Linked DNA regions of Homo sapiens: region 1 is linked to region 2. Evidence: promoter capture Hi-C in human tissues and cell types (Jung and others, 2019). All regions are on one chromosome and are shown on one strand. The core of a region is centred on a gene start or on the middle of the fragment in contact, and the rest is flanking DNA. Distances in the headings are between cores, read along the strand shown. Region 1 holds the start of LOC158434 (a long non-coding RNA gene). Region 2 holds the start of TDRD7 (tudor domain containing 7).

Evidence for each region. Contacts are between HindIII fragments. The study calls those that stand out against the background at their distance.
Region 1: a fragment that was not itself captured here is called in contact with the fragment with the promoter of TDRD7 in region 2 in 1 of the 25 tissues and cell types used here (lymphoblastoid cells).

Annotation. Positions count from the first base shown.
Region 1 is chr9:96,114,732-96,118,791 of GRCh38, reverse strand. LOC158434 (a long non-coding RNA gene) reads left to right here and starts at 2,381. Exons shown (of 3, transcript NR_132344.1): 1 at 2,381-2,546; 2 at 4,038-4,060. The HindIII fragment of the contact is 5,451 bases long and covers 1-4,060 here.
Region 2 is chr9:97,408,941-97,413,454 of GRCh38, reverse strand. TDRD7 (tudor domain containing 7) reads right to left here and starts at 1,359. Exons shown (of 17, transcript NM_014290.3): 1 at 1,217-1,359. RefSeq lists enhancers at 513-772, 377-876, 877-1,378 and silencers at 714-1,008, 1,093-1,302, 1,323-1,672. The HindIII fragment of the contact is 10,560 bases long and covers 1-4,514 here.

The sequences.
Region 1 (4,060 bases), core at 391-2,890, 1.3 Mb after region 2:
GAGTCCATTCATATTTAAAGGGCAAATGGCTAGACTAAAAAGATGATTGGAAGCCAGGTGTGGTGGCTCATGCCTATAATCCCAGCACTTTGGGAGGCAAAGGTGGGAGGATTGCTGGAGCCCAGGAGTTCGAGAAAAGCCTAGGTAACAAAGCAAGACCCTGTCTCTACAAAAAAAATTTAAAAATTAGCTGGGCATGATGGCACATGCCTGTAGATCCAGCTACTTGGGAGGCTGAGGTGGGAGGATGGCTTGAGCCTGGGAAGTCAAAGTGGCAGTGAGCCATGATAACCCCACTGCACTCCAGCCTGGGTGAAACCACAAGACCCTGTCTCAAAATTTAAAAATAAACAAACAAACAAATAAATTAGGTTATTGGAAACTCTGCATGCAAAGGTTTCTCTTTCAGTAGGACTTCCCAGAAGGAAACTGGCTATTTTGTTGAGGAACTCTTAAACATTATTATCTGCAAATCCTATCTCTGGGATTGATGAGTTTCCCCAGAGAAGAATTCTCTAATTTCCTGAGCCTGGCCTAGTTCACAGCCAAGTGAGGAAAGGGGATGCCACAGGGCTTGATTTTTATTACACTCCACTGTTTTCACCTAGACCTGGGTCCTGAGCCTGGACTCCCTTTCCTTTGTCTTCTCTAGAAAGTGACAACAACTCCCCCCATCCACTTGTCTTCTTCTGGATGAGGGAGGGGTGGTCCCAGTCCTGAGTGAGGTAAGCAAGGGAATCTCTGACTTCTTCTTTTATAGATTTTCAATTAATCCTCTCATTTTTAGCCCACTGGGATATTCCCCATGAGCAATGCCCTATGCTTCCACTTCCCAAGACTCCCTGGGTTCTGCGTTGTGAATCTGCCCAGCAGCTCCTGCCCCAGCCCTTGAAGTGCTAGCTTTCTGCATCCTGTGGTCTGTTCACTTACTCACTGCTAGATCTGACTTCCTCTTGCAGTCATTCAGTTGACCTCTCTCTGCTGTGACTCCTTTCATGTTCTCTTCGCTTTTGTGCGCCAATGTCTTTTTGTCCCTTTCCTGTCACTTTCATGGAGGGTTAGGAGGGAATAGAGACAAATGGCTGTGTGCAATTCATCATGCTTACATAAATTTCCATAAAGCCACAGCTCCTGATGTTGTTAACCGTCCCACCTGTGTGTTTCTTATCCACCCTCACCCCGCACTGGGGACAATCCCATTGTCTGCTAACTGCTTACCACATTTCCAGTGAAATGACCTTGCCTTTCATTTGGATTTGGGGAGGGGCAGAGTGTTAGGATCTGCATAACAAGATCCCCCACTTTCAATGTAGAATCAAGAATGGGAAATAAAGCAACCCTTGCTAGTTTCCAAAGTATTAGATACCGCTCCTGGGTCTCAGTAACTCTGAATATGCCAGACTTTTATCAAGGAGTAAAACAGTCACCCACGCCTTTGTGAAAGCTCGCAAGTTTGAAATTGTGCCGAATGAGGAAAAGCTTCCACACCAGACAGTTCCAGGTGCCCCTCTGAAAGAGTTATCCCTTTGCCTCAAAAAGAAAACAAGACACAACAAAAAACAAACAAAAAAACCCCCCAAGAAACAATGACAACAACAACAACAAAACCCTCTGTGGTCACAATGGAGAAAAGGTAGGACTAGGGGGCAGCGGGGCTTGAGAACCCTGCCCTCAAATGTTTATATAAAAGGAAGAGCTGCCTGGCACGGTGGTAACTGAGCTGTGTCCCTTCCAGGCTGAGCTCTGTCTTCAGCTGGACAATTTGAGCCAGCTGTGCCTGTTTCTTCCCCAGGGCTGAGAAGGCTTTTATTCACAGGCAGTTTCCTGGGATTGCCATTAGTGAAGACAGGGATCAAGGACTCACAGACAATGCCCTGCAAAGACAGCCACTCCCTTGGCAATTGGGGCAGAGTTTGCATCTTGGAGCTGGAACCTTGGCGGCCCCTGAGCACAGTGTTCTGGAGGAGTCTGTGCTGAAGGGCAGCCTGGAAGCCTGTGGGACATTGGGAACGGTACCAGCTGGGGCCTGGGCTTGCCCCTGGGTACAGAATGTTTTATTCAGTGGGCAAAGCAGTGCCAGGGTGGATGAATAAAGCCTTCAGATTCTGCATGGGGGTTTGTTTAACTCTCCCCCTTCTCATCCTCTGAACACAGCCAGAGGCATTTGGAACATGGCCCATATGATCATATCATTGGTGACAATGGAATCCAGGCCACCCAAAATCAATGAGTCTCTAACAAGGCACAACTGGCTGCTGGGACTTGTCTCCAGCATTGCAACATTGCCAGCTATTCTTTGTCTAAGTGCACTCATGTTAATGTGTAAGCCATTTCCTTCCCAGTGAGAAGGTTCTTTGTGAGATTGCTCTGTATGCTCACACTTGGAGACTGAAAGTTGGACTCGTAGGTACTGAGCGTCTTGTTGTGGAGACCAGATGCAATGCCTGGGCCTCCTGCTCCAGCTCCCATCCAGCCCTGGGTCAAAGCCTGCAGGCGAAGGACAGGACAGCAGAGTGAGCTCCAGGATGTGGAGGAAGGAAGATGAGGTGTGGTGGGGAAAGGGTAAGTGGGTGTGGAGGGTAGAAAAGTGTCCCCGAAAAGATAGCTCCAAGTCCTTACCCCGGTCCTTGCAAATGTGACCTTATTTGGAAATGAGATTTTTGCAGATATGATCTAGTTAAAGGTCTCAAGATGAGATCATCCTGGATTTAGGGTGGGACCTAAGTCCATTGACTAGTAGATATTTTTGCAAGAGAAAGGAGAAGATTTGAGACACAGAGAGACACAGAGGGAAGAAAGCCGTGTGAACTTGGACTCAGAGATGGGAGTGATGCTGTCACAGCTAAGAAATGCCAGGAAGCACCACAAGTTGGAAGAGGCAAGGGAGGGATCCCCCCCAGAACCTTCAGAGAGATCGTGGCCCTGCCAACACATTGATTTTGGACTTTTGGTCTCCAAAACTGTGAGAGAGGAAGTTTCTCTTGTTTGTTTTTTGTTGTTGGTGGTGGTGGTTTTTTGTTTTTTGTTTTAGATGGAGTCTCGCTCTGTCGCCCAGGCTGGAGTGCAGTGGTGCGATCTCGGCTCACCGCAAGCTCCGCCTCCCGGGTTCACCATTCTCCTGCCTCAGCCTTCCATGGAGCTGGGACTACAGGTGCCCGCCAACACACTCGGCTTTTTTTTTTTTTTTTTTTTTTTTTGTATTTTTAGTAGAGACGTGGTTTCACCATGTTAGTTCTCTTGTTTTAAGCTGCCACATTTGTGGTACTTTTGTTATGGCAGCCCTAAGGAGCTAATTCACAGGAGAGATGGGGAAGGGAAGAGGCAAGAAGATAGAAAGATGAGGAGGTGGGGACAGGGACAGCCATGCAGGCTGAGGCAGCAGGGGTGGAACAGCTCCCCTCCCTGTCATAGTCGCTTCATAACAAAATATCCTGGACTGGTGGCTTAAACAACAGAAATTAATTTTCTCAGAGTTCTGGAGGCTGGAAGTGAAAGATGAGGGTGCCAGCATGGTCAGTTTCTGGTGAGGGCTCTCTTTCTGACTGGTAAACGGCTGCCTTCTGGCTGTGTCCTCGTAGGAGAACAGAAGGCAAAGGAAAGCTCTCTAGCTTCTCTTCCACCACGAGCTTCAAATCTAAACCTGATTATCTCCCAAACACCATCACTTTGGGGGTTAGGGTGTCAACATATGAGTTTAGGGAGGATGCAATTCAGTTGATAGCAGGCCTTCATGCATGGGTGTCCCAGCATAGGTCTGGCAGTTTAGAGGCCAGAACTACACGGAATCTTGCTATGCAAAATGGGCAAAAACACCATTGATTGAAGGATAATTTAACCCGGAGCAGAGAAGTTACATTGAGAATCGAAAAATGACACCCTTGCCTTGGGGTTAACGAGGCTGAAAATAAAGACTAAACCAGCAGTAGTCTGGATGAAGGTGAAGGCAGGTGGGGCATCATTCATCAGACCTGGGAAGTGGGGGCGCAGGGCTTATCTGTTTGGGCCTCATCACTGCTCTCCCTATCATCTCCTGTCAGAAATAATTCCCTGACTGGTGTCC
Region 2 (4,514 bases), core at 110-2,609:
AGGATATACAGTGGTTATCTTGGAAAAGCCTTGCAAAGTAAGCCAGGTACCTCTATTTGACACATAGAAAACCAGGCTAAGAGAAAGCATGTAATTTGTTCAAGATCACACAATTTGTAAAATGAGAAGCCCAGATTTCAATCCAGGTCTGCAAAGTTCACATTATTTGCAGTATGCAACACATTCATACACATCAAGGCAGCCCAGGACGAGACAGGGATTTGGGTCCAAGTTTTACTTCTGCTATTAAGCTGTTGCCTATCTCTCTAGAGAGAACATTTCTCTGCATTTTTTTCACCGGCACGATTGGAGAGCAGAGAGGTGTTGGTAGGAGGGTTAATGAACTAGATCTGTGGTTTTTTGGTTTGGTTTGGTTTGGATGGGCGGTGATCAGAATTCTTCTGGGCCAGGACTTGTTCTAATGTGGTTGTTTCCCTTCCCTGCTCTTAGAAATTATTTGAGAATGGTACCTTTAGCTATTAATGGAAATATACCTCTCAAGTGAATGGGAGCAGAAAGATATGCCGGCTCCAAGCTCCCTCCTAGCAAGCTGAAGCTGAGAGTCTGACCCTGCTGAGGGGATGCTACTGAAAGTTGAGAGACAACTTACTCACGGATCCATGTTTCCCTCCCAGCTGGGTGCTCTGTACCCACTGGGTGCTCCTCGTTTGAGAGAAATGGGGATGTGTGTCCTGCATTACTTAAGCGGCCTGCCTGGGGCTCGTCTCCAGATTATAGAGACCTTCAAGAGAAGTTCGTGGTGTAAAATACTTGGGTTCAAATAGGGGAGCGCGGACATCCCTCGCTGGGGGCGGCGGCTGCGGCCTGTCGCGCCGGTAGCGGGAACCACTTCCTGGTCCGCATCTCCCGCCCGCGTCCACACCCCGCTGCTGCATTTCCCCCACGGCGCAGAGCTTCCGAGGCGGCAGGAGGCTCCGTCCGACTCCCGCGTGAACGCCCGGCCCGGAGCAGGGTCCCTTCAGAGATTTAAAACACAACGCTCTGGAACTCCAACTCCCCCGGCGCCCAGCCCGGTTCCCAGGCGTCGGGGCGGGGGCAATCCCCTGCGGCTGCAGGGAAAAGGCCCCGAGCCTGTTGGAGCCCCCGGCCCTGGCCGCGGTCCCACCGGTGACCCAGGTGCGCCGCGCCCGCCCGAAATCTCGTCCGACGTCGCCCGGCACCTGTCGCGCCCGGAGCCCGCAGGACCTGCACTCACCTCGTTCCGGGGGCCCACGGCCCGTCCCCGCGTCTCTGGGCCCAGCTCCTGCCGCCGTCTCCGCCAGGGGCCCCGCCGCGGCCGCCGCCCACTTTCGGTTTCCCCGCACCACCGGAGCCGCCCCGCGGCTTGGGAATCACCTCAAGCCCCCGCCCCGCCCTGCTCGGCCCCGCCCCGCTTCGCCCCGCCCCGCTTCGAGGGCAGCCTGGCCTCGGCTCTGCGCACGCGCGGGCGCTCCGGCCGCGTCGGCCCACGCCGGCGTCCGCGCGTGGGAAGGGAAACCGTCGCCACCTAGCGGTTTCTGCGCGTGCCCACGCACCGGCCGGCGGCGGAAGACGCCTGCGGGGCGGGTGCGGGAGCGCCTCCTGGTGGACAACGCAGGTACGCGCGGGCCGAGCGAGCCGGGACTCAGCAGGGGGCGAGGGTGGCTCCTTCTATGGGGCTCACCCTCCTTCCAAACAGTTCAACTCCTGCACATTATTTTCTTCAACATCTGGAGCAGTTACTTTTTATTGCCCTAGACACACACTCTGTCCGCCCATATCCTTCAGGCCTTTCTCAAGCATTACCCTTTCAATGACGGTGGACACAGTCTCTAACATGTCAACCTCCTTCCTTGACTTTCCCTATCCCCATTCTCAACCTTATTTCTCCTTAGCACCTATCTAGCACACTATATGTATTTTACTTATGCTTTTATTGTCTGCTATCCTTCTAAAATTAAAGCTCTGTGAGCACAAGGATTTTTGTTTGGTTCCTTAACCTATTCCCAGAGCCTAGGATAGTGCCTAGCACACGATCAGCAATAAATATCTGTCAAATTTATTCATTCACTCTAAAGTTATTGAACACCTAATAAGTGAATACTTATTTATTCTGCACATTAATTCCACCAACACTTATTGGCACCTGCTTTGCATCCCTGCAGCCAACATTGAACACTTCTCTGCACCATTGGATATGCATTTACTGAGAACCTGCTGCTTATTCAACCGGTATTTTATTACAGCTTGACTGCCATGTATAAGACATACAATAAACTGAACGTTTAAAATGTACAGCTTGATAAATTATGCATTTACTGAGAACCTGCTGCTTATTCAACCGGTATTTTATTACAGCTTGACTGCCATGTATAAGACATACAATAAACTGAACGTTTAAAATGTACAGCTTGATAAATTATGCATTTACTGAGAACCTGCTGCTTATTCAACCGGTATTTTATTACAGCTTGACTGCCATGTATAAGACATACAATAAACTGAATGTTTAAAATGTACAGTTTGATAAGTTTTGATATATATATATCACTGTGAGACCATCACTGCAATCAAAATCATGAACATATCCATCACCCAAAAAAGTTTTACTGTGATCCTTTGTAATTCTTATATCTTGTCCCTCCCTGTCACTTGCCCCCTCAACTGCTCACCTGCTTTCTGTTGCTATAGATTATTTTGCTTTTTCTAGAGTTATATGTAAAACTTTTATGTATGGAATCGTATGTACTATCCTTTGGGGGGCTGCCTGGCTTCTTTTATTTAGCAAATTATGTTCATCCATGTTGTTACATGTATCAATAGTTCATGTCTTTCTATTGCTGAATGGTATTGTAGGGATGTACCAAACCTACCACGCAACCCAGCAATTCTGCTCCTGGGTATTTACCCAGGAGAAATGAAAGCAGATGTCCACACAAAAACCTGTACAAGAGTGCTCATGGCAGTTGTGTTGGCCGTAGCCCCACATGGAAAGAATACAAACATCCGTCAGAAGGTGAATGGACAATCAACTAATATATATTGAACACCTGCTGTTAAATAACAAATTTTCATGGATAAGCCTGTGCTTATAGAGCTTTTGATTCAGTGAAAAGATGCAGTAGGCAATACAAAGAAAAATTGGAAGTAAATCTGGAAAACCTGATATCCAGCTCTCAGACACTTGGATGTTTCCCCAAAGGCGGTAGGGAATTGTTCAGAGTTTTTGAACAGGGCTTTTCTTTGAACACTGTTCTCTTTCATATCCTAGATCTGGTCCCTGACTAAGTTTGCCTAAATGTCTCTCTCTGGAATTTCTCTGCATCTCCTTTGCTCTATTTCAGTCTATTTCAGATGTCTTTCTGTTCTTTCCCTTCCAGTCTACTCCAAACATTGCAGTGGATTTTTAATAGACTTTGCTATGGTCTGAATGTTTGTGTCCCTACAAAATTCATGTTGAAACCTAATCCCCATTCTTGCGGTGTTGAGAGGTGGGACCTTTGAGAAGTCATGATGGCTTCGTCCTTGTGAATAGAATTAGTGCCCTTAGGGGCTTAAGGGAGCCTTCTGCCCCTTCCACTGTGTAAGGATTCAGCAAGAAGGTGCCATCTTTGAAGAGGAGAGCAAGTCCTCACAGGATGCCAAATCTGCTGGCACCTTGATCTTAGACTTCCAAACCTCCAGAACTGTAAGAAAAAAATTTCTATTATTTATAAATTATCCAGTCTAAGATATTTTGTTATAGCAGCAGGAATGGACCAAGACAGACCTAAAAGACAACCAGCCCCAATTTGGTCTCTGCAGTACTCACAACATCCTGTGGCTCCACATTTTAGAAGGGAAAGATGTAAAAAGCAGCTGCCAAAGGAAAGAGTGCTAGTAGTAGCAGGAAATAAAAAAAAATTTCAGAGTCTAATATGTAGAATAAATCATAAAATAATGTGAGTTGAACCCAAGTTTGAGATCCTTTATCCTTGCAAAGATGTTCCATGTTTAGACTGCCCTATATGTAAAGAAAAATGAAGCTCTGCAGCTAGTTTTTTTTAAACCAGCTTTTTTGATAGTTGACATATAATACATATTTAAATGTACAGTGTGATGAGTTTTGACCAACGTCTTTAATTGTGTACCTACCACCACAATCAACATATGGGATTAGTTCATAATTCCAAAACTTCTCCTGTGCCCCTTTACAGTTAATTCTCTCCCCATACCTTTATCCACTAGCAGCTACTGATCTGATTTTTGTCATCATAGGTTTGCCTTTTCTAGCATATCATATAAGTGGAATCATGCAGGATGTCATCTTTTGTGTCTGGCTTCATCACTTAGCATGATGGTTTTGAAAGTCATCCATGTTGTTGCACATAGTGGTAGTCGGTTCCTTTTTAGTGCTGAATAGTAAGCCATTGCATGGCTTTATCACAATTTGTTTATTCATTCACATTTCATGCACATTTGTGTTGTTTCCAGTTTGGGCTGTTATAAATAAAGCTGTAATAACAGCCATATGCAGGTCTTTGTGTGGTGATGTG